Regions from separate parts of the Homo sapiens genome. Here all the other regions are linked to region 3. The links are contacts of gene promoters, found by promoter capture Hi-C in human tissues and cell types (Jung and others, 2019). All regions are on one chromosome and are shown on one strand. The core of a region is centred on a gene start or on the middle of the fragment in contact, and the rest is flanking DNA. Distances in the headings are between cores, read along the strand shown. Region 1 has its middle 3.0 kb from the start of LINC02773. Region 2 overlaps ATF3 (activating transcription factor 3). Region 3 holds the start of VASH2 (vasohibin 2).

Evidence for each region. Contacts are between HindIII fragments. The study calls those that stand out against the background at their distance.
Region 1: a fragment that was not itself captured here is called in contact with the fragment with the promoter of VASH2 in region 3 in 1 of the 25 tissues and cell types used here (spleen).
Region 2: a contact is called between a fragment that was not itself captured here and the fragment with the promoter of VASH2 in region 3, in 1 of the 25 tissues and cell types used here (lymphoblastoid cells).

Annotation. Positions count from the first base shown.
Region 1 is chr1:212,666,431-212,670,907 of GRCh38, reverse strand. No RefSeq gene overlaps it. Among named protein-coding and RNA genes, the nearest start is that of LINC02773, 3.0 kb to the right of the region's middle. RefSeq lists a silencer at 3,424-3,643. The HindIII fragment of the contact is 6,400 bases long and covers 1-4,477 here.
Region 2 is chr1:212,615,184-212,619,786 of GRCh38, reverse strand. ATF3 (activating transcription factor 3) reads right to left here. Exons shown (of 4, transcript NM_001674.4): 2 at 4,526-4,603; 3 at 1,553-1,660; 4 at 1-429. The coding sequence ends at 232. Among named protein-coding and RNA genes, the nearest start is that of GARIN4, 7.0 kb to the left of the region's middle. The HindIII fragment of the contact is 5,545 bases long and covers 49-4,603 here.
Region 3 is chr1:212,949,158-212,953,517 of GRCh38, reverse strand. It overlaps VASH2 (vasohibin 2), which reads right to left and starts at 2,977. Exons shown (of 8, transcript NM_001301056.2): 1 at 2,778-2,977; 2 at 1,700-2,179. The coding sequence starts at 1,975. RefSeq lists enhancers at 2,272-2,321, 2,842-2,991. The HindIII fragment of the contact is 12,745 bases long and covers 365-4,360 here.

The DNA of each region.
Region 1 (4,477 bases), core at 435-2,934, 280 kb after region 3:
TGGCCCCCAAACAGGACAGGCCAAGGTGTGACTGAGTAGCTCACTTGAGGGTAAAACCTGGGACTTCAGCCTCAGGGACAGCATAACGTCCCACTCTGCAACCAGCAGGTTGTAATGAGTTGGGAAATTGGGGCTCCACGGTAGAGTAGAAAGAGCGCAGAACCAAACTGCTTTCAAATCTCGGCTCTGTCACCAGATGTATGACTTTGAGCAAGTTGTTTAACCTCTTTGTGCCTCGGTTTCTTGATCTGTTAAATGGGGATGATAATATTACCCACCTCATAGGGATGTTGTGTGAATCAAAAGTGTTAACACATACAGTTGTCTCTCAGTATCTTCCGGGGATTGGTTTCTTCGGGTAAAGAGAACCCAAATACTGGCAGGAAAACCTCGCTCCTCCAACCTCATCCCTGCGCTGATGACTCAGGGAGAAACCACACAGTAATTTACCTAGCAGTCTTCATGGACATCAAAATCCAAAGACGCTCAAGTCCCTGACATAAAATGGCTTAGTATTTACATTGACTTATGCACATCCTCCTGTATACTTTAAATCAACTCCGGATTACTTATAATTCCTAATACAATGTAAATGCTATGTAAATAGTTGTTATACTTTATTGTTTAGGGAATAATGACAAGAAAAAAATGTAGATATTCAGTACAGATGTTTGGTTTTTTAAAAATATTTTCTATCCACTGTTGGTTGAACCCACAGACATGGAGGACTGAATGTATGAAGTACTTGGAATTGTACCTGGCCCAGAGTAAACCCAAGACAAATGATCAAATTTGGCTTTTGATCATTTTTGATTGGGGGGTGACTAGGGTGTGAAGGGTGTGTGGCCAGAGGACTGAGGACAGCCGGGTGGGCAGGCAGAGACCTCCACTTGCCATGGTTTATGCGTCTTTAAGGAAGGAAAGGACAAAGATGGTGGCTGGGATGGAGAACGACGCGCTTGTGCAAAGTCAAACAAACCTCCCAAGGACTCTCACTAATATCCTAGGAGCTTCCACAGGATCTCAGGGCTCTGCCCAGGCCACCATCGCCTCATCCTGCAGAGGGAGGATGGCTTGCGTCTGCATGACCCTTCTGTGAACCAGGCCTGCCAGCTGCAGCCTGTGCCGCCCAGCCCTGCTGGCCTGCTCCTCCTCGGGTACATTGGTGCATGAACCTTGCCCTGGGGATGTCTGACGTCTCTATCATTATTTTTCCTTCTTTCCATTTCTGCTTTGCTTAACAAAACTTGCTGAATGATATGTATTAATATTTGATAAGCCATCTTAGGTTATTCCTGGAATAGGCAGAGAATAAAGAAATAAACCACCTAGTTCCTAGAGATTTTAACTTTCTTAAAGTTTTTATAGCAGTGGTTTTCAAATTCATTTTTTTCAGAGGATCCCCCTTTTAAAAAATGAAATCTTTTCTAGAAACCCTACCATATGTAAACAGCCTGATCAGGTTAAAGCAGGGAAAAGGACCTCAGCACCCACTTGCTGCTTACCCCCCGGCCACTCCCTGCCCGCCTTGCCTACCCCCTTGTCCCCCAAGGTGTCTTTACCAAGTCCTGTCTCTGAGGGGCACTGTTTGTAAACCATGAGTCCTTTCCATGGAAATCACACTGCAATGTTTGGTATGTCATTTTGGTGCAAAAATAAGGAAGTGAGATGGTTTCCTATGACCTTTTGGACAATTTCCTAATTATTGCTGCTAAACAGCAATATCTATACCTGCTACATCTATGTCTGCTATATAGACATAAACTGCTAAAGAATGAATATTAGTTAACCTCTAACAGGAAATAACAAAATGAACAAAAACAAAAGTCCTGTTTACCTTTCTATTACAGAAGATAATCATTTGTGAGTTTAAGTAACAATTGAGCTTTAATTATCACTGACAGAATGAAAACAAATAACAGCTAGATGCAGATCTTCAAAGTGAAATACAAACAAAATACAATTCAAAAGTAGTTTAGAAACCGAGTTTTAACTAATAATTAACACAACCTCTACATCAGCTACCCCCAGTCTCCCCCCATACAGGGAATTCTCCATTCCTCAAATTGTCTCTACTTTCCCATCCTTTCATGTTTAACCCTCTTCTCAAATCCCAGCTCCTTCGTGAAGCCTCGTGTGATCTACCTAGTCAAAGCCCAGTGGCACTTTATTAAATACAGTCTTCTCTATCTTAGGGTGTGGGCTTAGTCCCCTCAGTGAGGGGGCTGACGTGGCATCTGGGCCACTTTCACACAGTGGTCAGCCCCGCCGAGCACAGTGGACACCCAACCACTGCTCCTTCCATTCTCTCTCTCATTCTCCCTGGTACTCAAGATGGTGCTGCTTCTGAAAGGGTTAAACTTTATATGACTGTGTTGGTAGAAAGACAAATACATTAAATTCTCTTTCAACATCAAGTTCATTTTTTCTGATTTTAAAAGAAATTAAAATATTTACATAGGCCCCTAAAAGCAAGATAGGCCCTTGGTGATGCTACTGTGCACGTATATAAAGCTGCCACTTTACTAGCTATGTGGACTTGGGCAATTTACTTAACCACTCTAGGCTTTAGTTTTCTCATTTGTAAAATGGGGATAATGATAGCACCCAATTCGCAGAATTAAATGTCAGCTATGACTTGCCTGCATTGCGAAGTTAAAAATAGGGAAACACAAAGGATAATATCTTCTTGATTTCTTTTTATGCTCTGATCCAATATCAAATCTAGCTTTTCAACTTATTTTTGGCAAACATAAACTTCCTATTTCAAAGGAAAAGCACTAGAAAGAACAAATGAAACCAAACCAAAAGCTCTTCCGAGACATCCAAGGACTCTTGCCAAACAGCAACTTGATGAGTTCACAGTAAATGAATCAGAGACATATGGTTTAGATTCCCCACTCAAAGTCCTCAGGGGGAAACAGGAAGGCCGAGGACTCCAGAGAGCAGCTGGCCGTGTCAGCCCCACTCTGCCAGCTGAGCAAGAGATTACGATGCCCTGGAGCCCCTCAGGCATCTCCCGGATGATCCTTTCCCCTGGGCTCAACTCACGTTTCTCATTTGACTCTGTCTTCCCCCAGAAGGAAGATGTCACCCAGGAACCCTAACTGGAAACCGGACAGTTACCAGGGCACCCAAAACCCAATATTTGGTTATTACTTCATCCTTGACCTTCATTCCATTCATTCCCAGCTGCAGACAGTAGGATTTCTAAGGAAGAGTTAAGAGGGTAGAGGTGGTGGACTGTCTCTCTGTGATTGTTGTTTTCCAGGAACTCAGCTTGTTGCCAGGGAGATGTCACACACTAGAATGTTCCCACTGACCAGCAAGGGAACTCTGGAATGACTCATGTGAGGACCTGCCCCAGGAAAGGGAGGGTTATGGCCTAAAACCACACCACCCCCCTCATTGTATCAAACTCCATCCTTTTCAATGACAACTTCAGCCCCTCCCCTTCCCCCACCAGGAAGCCTTCCTAGATGAACCAGAAGCACTGTCTACCCCAAGCCACCCTCACACCTCCAACACTTCATTTGCATATGTGGTTAGCTTTTTAATGATATCAGAGCAATCTGTGAACAGCTTCAGCAGGGGGCCCTCTGGCAGAATTGAATAAATTGGACGGTTAAAGACCTGATTGAGGCCAGGTTTGTTGGCTCACTCCTGCAATCCCAGCGCTTTGGGAGGCCTAGGAGGGAGGATTGATTGAGCACAGGAGTTTGAGATCAGCTCCAGGCAACATGATGAGATCCCCATCTCTAAAATATAAAATAAAAATTAGCCAGGTGTGGTGGCAGGCACCTGTAGTCCCAACTACTCAGAAGACTGAGGTGGGAGGATCGCTTGAACCCCAGAGTTCGAGCCTGCTATGAGCCATGATTGTGCCACTGCACTCCAGCCTGGGCAACAGAGTGAGACCCTGTCTCAAAAATTAAAAAAATATATATATGACTGAGAGCCAGCTTGGTAAAGCCTTCAGAGCCAATGTGCCCTGCAGTCCGTCAACACACATGGAATGATTGCGCACTGGGGAACTGCAGTGCAAGACAGAGATGTGGAAGAAAGACTTGACTCTCAGAGATAGAAAAGTCAGGAAAGACACAAATAAAAACCCCAAAGAACTCCCAGACACAGACCTCTACAAACTGACTTGTTAACCTTTTGGGCCCGATCACAGCAGAAGCAAGGGCTCCACACCATACGAACCTGGGTCAAGGCTAAGGTGCCGGGGCCGGCTTCTTCTCCTCTGCTCAAGCAGGCTTTATATGGAGCACACTCTCTCCAGGACACAAAACAAGAACCATGCCCCTTCCACCCTGGCCCCCCTTACCCTCTCAGAAGGGGCTCCCTGGCCTAGCAGAGAGCAAAAGGCTACAGGTCTCACCACTGAAAGCTGGGCACCACCCGCCCCAAAGCAGAGAAGTGGAGGAGAGGACACTAGGTAGCTGCGCTAGCAGGGTTGTGCATGAAGCCAGCA
Region 2 (4,603 bases), core at 1,572-4,071, 330 kb after region 3:
AGGCCTAAATCCTGGAGTTGAGGCAAAGATGCACTTGCCCTGGTCCAAGACCCACTCTGGGGCAGAATGGGAAGGGCCTGCTGAATCACTGCAGGCCCTCCCGCCTTGATGGTTCTCTGCTGCTGGGATTCTAGAGGTACACAGGAAGACAGCTCTCCAATGGCTTCAGGGTTTTGGGTATAAAATGAGGATTCAATGAGGACTCCCCAGTCGCCCCCATACCACGACTGCTTAGCTCTGCAATGTTCCTTCTTTTATCTGTTGGATAAAGAGGTTTCTCTCATCTTCTGGAGTCCTCCCATTCTGAGCCCGGACAATACACGTGGGCCGATGAAGGTTGAGCATGTATATCAAATGCTGCTTCTCGTTCTTGAGCTCCTCAATCTGAGCCTTCAGTTCAGCATTCACACTTTCCAGCTTCTCCGACTCCTGGGGGACAAGCAACAGAGGCATCAAGAAAGGAGCCAAGGGCCAGTGAGGAGGGGGTGGCCTGGGCTGCTGCCTGGATGCAGGGGTGTACCTGGGACACACCGGGGCTCATCAAGCTGCGAGAGGAAGATGGGAGATGGGAGAGCAGCACTGGGTTTAGGAAAATGCAGACCCTCTTCTTCAGAGAAACCCTGGTGATGCCACAGAGGCGGCCTGTGGCTCTGCTAATACTGAAGCTGCAGTTCAGATACCTCATTTGCATGAGTCAACAGCCCATATGCAGGTCTTCTGGACCCAAAAGGGCCTTGGGAGCTGGGGAGAAATCCAGACTTATGGTGGCTTAGTCGATTCTGAGTCACAGATCTCAATGAGAAGCTCATCTCCCCAGAAAAAATGTATATAGCAACACACAAAATTCCCTAATTTTCACTGATCCCCTGAAGCAATCAACAGAACTTTTGGGGATCTGTGGGACTTGGGCTAAGACTCTGTCATGGCCTGTCCACATTTGGAGGAGGGACACAGCCACTGGAAAGACTGCTGAGCACCACCGGCCACCCTGCTTGCCCACAAAAGCTATTTCCCCTAGTGTCTCTCAGGCGGGCCGGCTGAACGCAGCCAGGGGCTCAGCTTACTGGCTAAGCCAGGGAGAAGGGCTCTAGAGTTAGGAACCAGACAAGAATGCAAAGCAAGTGTAACCACTGCTTGTGGATTAAGGAAATAACTTGTTTGAAGAGATTAATTAAAGGCTTTTCATAGTGAGCCAAATGAGAGCTGGCAGCTTCCTTTTCTCAGGAAAACAGTCAAGTGAAGCCTCTTTAACTGGGCTGGCATGTCCTGCAGCCTGGAAGCTGATGGACATGTATGAACCGGCCGAGGCTGCTGGGAGTCAGGCATCAGACGAATTCACACACCTGTTTTTATACATCCACCGTCACATCCATTGTGTTAACTGCTTTGCCACCTCCTCATTCTGCAACTGGCATTTCTGCTACCAGCTACAAGGCCCTTCTTGGGAAACTATAACCAAGTAGGGGGTTTTCTAACTCTTCTTCTGATAGCCACATGAAGCTGGTGAAGACAGGCGTGAGCGAGAGGAAGGGTAAGGCTAGAAGGCACTCACTTTCTGCAGGCACTCCGTCTTCTCCTTCTTCTTGTTTCGGCACTTTGCAGCTGCAATCTTATTTCTTTCTCGTCGCCTCTTTTTCCTTTCATCTTCTTCAGGGGCTACCTGTAAAATCCAAAAGAAACACATTTAAAGGGCAGTAAGAAATGCCACCTACCTCAAATACACTGCCTTTTACTGCCAGCAAAAGCTGGCAGACAAGGGCAATGCTAGCGCTAAAAGACCCCGAAATACTAAAGCTCTAGACTTTTGTGTGAAAACCCCTACACACACACACACACACACGCACACACACACACGTGAGTGAACAACAAAAATCAAAGTTAAAATTATACCGGCAATATATTAGTAAATTAAAAGTTAGCCAATTTTAAAAATGCATTTGGATTTTGAGATGAGGATAATATGCAAATTGATAACTATTGGTATTAACTATAATCATTTAAAGCCGAAACAGATTCTGTCTGGTAAACATCTCCTTTCTTTGAGAACCAGGAATGATCTCAGGATCATTACCTAGCCACCCACTCCCGGCCTCTTCTTCAATTCAAGACCCAAGGGCAACCCCATTCACCTCTGACTTCACCTGGAGCATCAGAGCACCAGCTTCCCAAATTTGGGAGAAGCCCATGATGCTCCTGTAGAAAAGGCACCTAAGCCCATTCCCAACCAAAGCGGCATTAATCGGCCCATGCTGGGGTGCCACCTGCAAGTGGTGAACTAGGACAGTCTTTTAGGTCAGTCCCACTACTCCTTGCCCAAAGGCTGCAATCATGCCAGTTGAGTAAGCCTGAAACACTTCCACTTGCCACCATGAGGAAAAGGCCAATAAAATGGTGGAACCTCAGCTCTGACATCCTTAAGCCACTATGGCATCGCCAGAAGCCACCTCCCAGACTTCTCACCATGTTTATTATTCCAGGAGTCTTACCCAAGGTTGCCAAGCGTGGAACAGTGCAAGTGTGTCAGACAGAAGTGAACCTGGAGCAACACCTGGTCCCAAGGCTGTGAACATTGCTACAGGGAAGGGTGGGGCAGGCTGCCTGGTCCTTGCTCTACTGTCTGGGTGCTTGGGTCCTAGTAGTGATAAAAACAGGGACCACCACGCTCCAAGCTTCTTCAGAACAACTGGACACAGAAGGTGGCCTCATCCTGACTCATGGCTTTAAGTGCCATCTATATGCCGATAATTTCCAACTCTATTATCTCTAGCCCAGACTGTCCTCTGAACTCCAGACTCACATATCCAACTGCCTGCTTGACATCTCCACAGGGGTCTGCAGAATAGGACAGACCTCCTGCTCTTGCCACCACCCTAACCCCTATAATCCCAAATCTCAGCAGCAAATGGACGCTCCATTCTTACAGCTATGCTGGCCAGAAAACTCAGTCACCCTTGAGTCTTCCCTTTCTCTTACACCCCACATCCAATCTATCAGCAAATCAGCTTTACCTTCAAGTCAGATCCAAAGCCAACCACTTCTCAGCACCTGCACTGCTCCCTCCTGCTGCAGGCCCCCTGACTCACGTGGATTCCTGCCACGGCCTCCTTTCTGTGCACTCAGCTTCTGTCTTACCCCTACTGCCCATTCTCAACATGACAGCCAGGGTGATCATTTAAAAATATAAATCAAGGCTGGGCGTGGTGGCTCACACCTGTAATCCCAGCACTTTGGGAGGCCGAGGCGGGCGGATTACCTGAGGTCAGGAGTTCGAGACCAGCCTGGCCAACATGGAGAAACCCCGTCTCTACTAAAAAAATTCAAAAATTAGCCAGACGTGTGGCGGGCACCTGTAATCCCAGCTATTTGGAAGACTGAGGCATGAGAATCCCTTGAACCTGGGAGGCAGAGGTTGCAGTGAGCCAAGATCATGCCACTGCACTCCAGTCTGGGTGACAGAACAAGACTCTGTCTCAAAAAAAAAAGTGTGTGTGTGTATCTGTGTGTGTGTGTGTGTGTTGAATCTTGTTGCTTCTCTGCTCAAAAGCCTTCTGTGGTTTCCCACCTCACTTTGAGCCCAGGGCTGCATCTATACAATAATAATCTGTAAGACCCAATATGACCAGCCCCTATTTATCTCCCACCCCTATACTCTGCCCCACTGCACAGCCCACCAGGCACCAATACTTCCACCTCAGTGCCCTTAATTTCTTTTACCAGATACCCACGTGGCTTCTTCCCTCTCCTCTTTCCTTCTTCCTTTCCTTTTGACCTCTGCTCAAAAGTCACTATCAGTGAATCCTTACCTGACTTCCTAATTTAAAACAGCAACCCCGGCTGGGTGCAATGGCTCATCCCTGTGATCCCAGTGTTTTGGGAGGCTGAAGCAGGAGGATCGCTTGAGCCCAGGAGACTGAGGCTACAATGAGCCGTGATCACCCCACTGCACCCCAGCCTGGGTGATGGAGCAACACTGTCTCTAAAAGCAAAATGAGTCTTGCTCCATCACCCAGGCTGGAGTGCAGTGAGGTGATCACGGCTCATTGCAGCCTCAACCTCCTGGGCTCAAGCGGTCCTCCCACCTCAGCCTCGCAAGTAGATGAGACTATAGGCCATGTACCACCTTGCCCAGCTAATACTGTCATAGAGATTGGGTTTCATTGTGTTGCCCAGGCTGGTCTCAAACTCCTGGACTCAAGCGATAATCCCATCTTGGCCTCTCAAAGTGCTGGGATTATAAGCGTGGGCCACCATGCCTGGCCTGAAAAGTTTTTAAACCCAGCAACCCCATCCCTACCCGTTCTCTCTGCCCCGCTCCCTGCTTTTTTCTCCTTTGCACTCATCTCTTAACGTGTACTTACGTATGTTATGTACTTCTGTCTCCTCCCAGGAGAAGGTAAGCTCCCTGAGGGCAGTGGTTTTGTTTGTTTCACTCTCAACAACAGCCCCCTGCCTAGAACATGCCCAACACACAGTGGCTGCGAGCGAAACATGTGCCGAAAGAATGAATACCTGTGATAGAACCCACCTCGGCTTTTGTGATGGACACCCCGAGGGGTCTGTCGCTGACAGTGACTGATTCCAGCGCAGAGGACATCCGGTGGCA
Region 3 (4,360 bases), core at 1,728-4,227:
AGTTGACAATGCTCTGCCCTGATTCAAAAGGCAAGAGGAACACAACAATCAGTGATGAAATGTGATTTGCGGGTGGGAGGGTGCTGCGAGGAGGATTTATGGTTGGTCTAAGAGCTTCCTAACAATCGACTCTGGCCAGGCCTAAGATCAGCTGCCCTGGGAAGCAGCAAGCTCCCCATTCCCAAGAGGTCTTCAGAAAGAGGAGGGGATTCTGTTGAGAGGTGGGAGACTGGTCTCTACAAACAGCAAAATTCCATGATTCCCACATAGAGAATGCACCCCCCCCCGCGCACCCGCATACATGGTTGGAGGAAGGATAAAAGCACAATTAGAGGCAGGGTTGGTACGGGTGCTACTAAGAAAGGCAGCATGGGACAGTAGGAACAGGCGTTTTTTTCCTTGTGGTCACTTTTCTTCCAAGTTTAAGGGCTCTCGGCTCCTCACTGGAGGAAAAATTCTCAAGTCAGAACTGCAAACCAGGAACAAAGGTTGTTCTCATATTCAAGAACTCAGCAAGGGTAATTATGGTTGACACTAAAGCAGGCAAGATTCTAGTTGGGCACAATGAAGATCTCCTTGACCAGCAGAGTAATAGAACACTGTAACTGACTGCAGCAGGAAGTTTAGAGGCTCTGTCACTTCTCCAAGGACACACACAGCTTTCTGGCCTGCAGGCTCAGATGCTCAGCTGTCACCAGGCTGGGGAATCAACCAGATGGCCTTCCGGGTCTCAAGTCTGGCATTCCTAGACCTGCCCAGGAATCTTCTCAGCCGTACCAGCGTCCCCAGGGTCCAGGGGAAACCATCCGCCACGCTATAACCCCGAGGCTCGGCAGCATTTCTCCCCAGTTTGCATTTTGATGTTTCATATAACGTATCTACTCCCACCAGGGTACATCTCCCTCCCTCGGTAAAGATATCCTTAGCCACCAAACCCAAATGGCTCACTGGCTTCTCTCCAAGGCAAAAAGAGAGTTTCACTCCTCATCCTCTTTTTCTATCCAGTGAGACTAATTCATCATGTGTACTGGAAAGTCCCTTTTAAGTCTCAGCCAAAAGTCTTTCTTTTTTCTTGGAGCACAAATAAGCTGGGAAGAGAGAGAGAGAGTTCACCGTTTTGCAAGTTTCAGAGGTGAAAGTCACTGTCACACACACACACACAAAAAAACCAGAAAGAAAAGAAAAAAAACTGGCAAAAAGTCTGGAAATTATTCACACTGAGAAGTCTGACTGGTTGATTTCAAATTCATTCACAGCTTAATAAATCATTTGCTGGGGGAAGAGGGGAGCAGAGGAGGAGCAAGACACTCCAAAGAGAACAAGCAGGGTGGGATCCCTGGGGTCTGTGCATTCTTTGGCATCGCTGGTACCTGGTGGCTCTAGCTTTTGCTGAAGGAGGATGTATGTGGGGGTGAGTAAATAATAGAGTTTGGCTGGAGCTTCAAAGACACCTTGGCACAATCCAATTACACAGTCCCAGGATAGCAAGCCCGCTACCTCTCCCTTCCCCATTTCTTAGGCTTCCAATCTAAATATCTCAATTAGAAAAGGGCTGGCAGGAAGGAATGGGGAGAGGAAGGGAGTTTGTAGCAGGACTAGGAAAATGGAGATTGCCTGTGTTTGCTATGTATAGGCTGAAACGGTCCCATCGCTGCCTACCTACCCCCAGCCCCCCAACTCCGCCCTGGAAGCCACTGACCTTTGCCAAGAAGGCGGCGTTCCTGATGGCGCCCACCATTTCTCCCCCCTTAGGGTGCACCTTGGCCACGTGCATCCACATGCGCTCCCAGGTGTGGCTGTCGATGGGGAAGCCGCTCTTGTTGACGTGGAACAGCACCCCGCCGTCTTTGTCCTCCTCCTCTGAGCCCCCGCTGGTGGCGAGGCTCACGGGCCGCGCGTGGCTGCTCCGGGACCGGGTGCCTTTGGCGCCTTTGGGGTGGGGGCAGCGGTGAGTGTCGGCCGCGGAGCCGGTCATGGTGGGGCCTGGGCGGGGAGCGAGGTACTGGGGGCGCGCGGCGGCGGCAGCGGCGGCGGCGGCGGGGGGCGTGTGCGCGCGGGCGCGGCGAGGGGATCAGCGCCCCGCGGGGGCGGCCTTCTCCATGCCTCTCGCTGCGGCAGGACTCACCAAGGGGGAGCGGCGGCGGGAGCTCCGCGGAGGCTCCCTGCTTACCGGCGGTGCCTGAAATCAGCGGAGACACAGCTGACACCACAGCTAAGTGGACGCACAGCGGAACCGAGTGAGGGGTCCCGGAGTGTCTCCACGACACTCCCCGCTCCCCCCTGCACGCTGACAGCCTCCCTGAGAATCGATGACGGGCTTCCAGCCCTGCGATTACCTAGAAAGGCAGCTCAAAATGTGCCACGAAGCTTCACACACACCTAAACCCGGGGGGTTGGGGATGGAGGGGCACAAGGAGCTTGGGGGATGCGGAGCGCAAGATGTGGGGAGAAGAAAGACAGCTTGTGTAGCATGAAGGAACAGGAGGTTCCCGCAAGGCTCCACACATTCCTGGGTCCTCAGATGTGGCCAAGAGAGGAGGGGAGCCACGAACGTGCTGGCATGTGAGCGCCCAGAGCTGGCGCGAGGGCGCTGCAGCAGCCTTGGCTTGCAAGGCGGCCCGCTTTCTTCCAGGAAGCCCTCCCGGACCCCGGCGGGGATCTAGTGGAAAGAGCTCCATCCGCCCCCTTTTCCCCGAGTTCCAGCGCCTATCACCGGGAGGGACTGGCTGCAGGCGGGCGGCGCGCAGGAAGGGCGCGCGGCAGCTCCAAGATCCTACCTCGGGACGGTTGGCTTCATGGCTGCAGAGCCTCTCCGGGCGGCGGGAGAGCAGGGGCTGCTGCTGCTGCTGCTGGGCCTGGGGCTGGGGCTGGGGCTGCTGGGGCTTGCTGGGGCCGTCGCCTCATTCCATGTCCCATTCTCGAATGTTATTCTGTGACATATAACCAAGTCACCCGGGCAGCCGCCGATGTTCCGAATGCGTCTATTGGCCACCGCAACAAAGAGGGGCGGGTCCCGGGCTCGGGACTCTACAACCCCGGGCTCCGCGACGCTCTGATTGGCTCCAGGGGTTCTCTGGCGGGAGGGGACAGGAGTAGGGGGAGCCTGGCGGCCACGCGAAATCCGATCGCTGTGGTGTCCTGAGAGCCCCGCGGGCTGGAGCGTTTGGCCATGGGACTTAAGATCGAGTTTCCCCAGGGGTCGTGGCACTTCGAGGGTTTGCAACTGTGGAAGCAGAGGAGAAACAAAACCACCCGAGAAGTGACCCCGCGGAAGCAGAGGGTTTGGCATCAGAAGAGCATTCCCTGAGGGACGCTGGACACACTTACCTGCCTCTACCCGGGATGATGAGTTGTTCATCCTCTACCTGGGATGATGAGGGGCTGTTCATACCTATGCGTGAAATTAAATCTTTTTTAAATCCCGCATTTAAAAATTCCTCAAAATTAACAAGTGGGTGCAGCTTTGGATCCTCTGGTATTAGTCATGGTTAATAAAGTCCCTTTAAGCCCAAGTTGAGAGGAGACAATAAAACTCAAGAGGTCAGGCAGGCCCTGACTGTTCTGCCACAGCTGTTGAGTGAGAGGAGGGATGGAGAGATGCTTCCAAACCATGGTGAAGTGGGTGGCTATCCCACACTCACTACTGAAACACCTTCTCTTTCTTTTTCTTTAAGAAAGAGGAGAGCAGGTTGAGGTGGGAAGAGCACCAGACTGCTGACCTGAAGGCTGGCTCCTGGTCCAGGTTTGTCACTTTGCTCAGCTGTGTGACCCTGGACAAGCCACTTCCCTGCTCTGGGCCTTAGCTTCTCTTTCTGAAAGGAGAGCAGACCTCCCGCTCTCCAGGGTCTGTTCTGGCTGTAAGGTTCTGTGATTCCCTGACTTCCTCTCTTGTGACACTGAGGATCCTGGCCATAGCATCCTTTCTCTTTAAACTGCAGGCCAGCAGGCCAGCTCTGAGCAAAGCAGTTATGAGACCTATGCTAAGTGAACCTTGAATTAAGAAGACAGTTGTCAAAGTGCCACTGATGGCGGGTCAGTTTCTGGATGCTTATCCTGACAAGTTGCCTGTCATGGAACTGGAACTTCTCTTCCACAGGAGGGCAGAGACCCCTGAGGGGTAGTTGAGAGCCAGGGCTTGGGTGAGGAGACCTGGATTCTGGACTTAGCCCTGCACTGCTCCCTGAGACAGAGCCCATGCCAAGAACTTTATAGATTCAATAATGAGAATAGGGCAGACGTGGTGCCTCACACCTTTAAACCCAGCACTTTGGGAGAAAGAGGAGGAAGGATTACTTGAGGCCAGGAATTAGAGACTGGACCAACATAGCGAGACCTTGTCTCTACTAAATAAATATTTTGA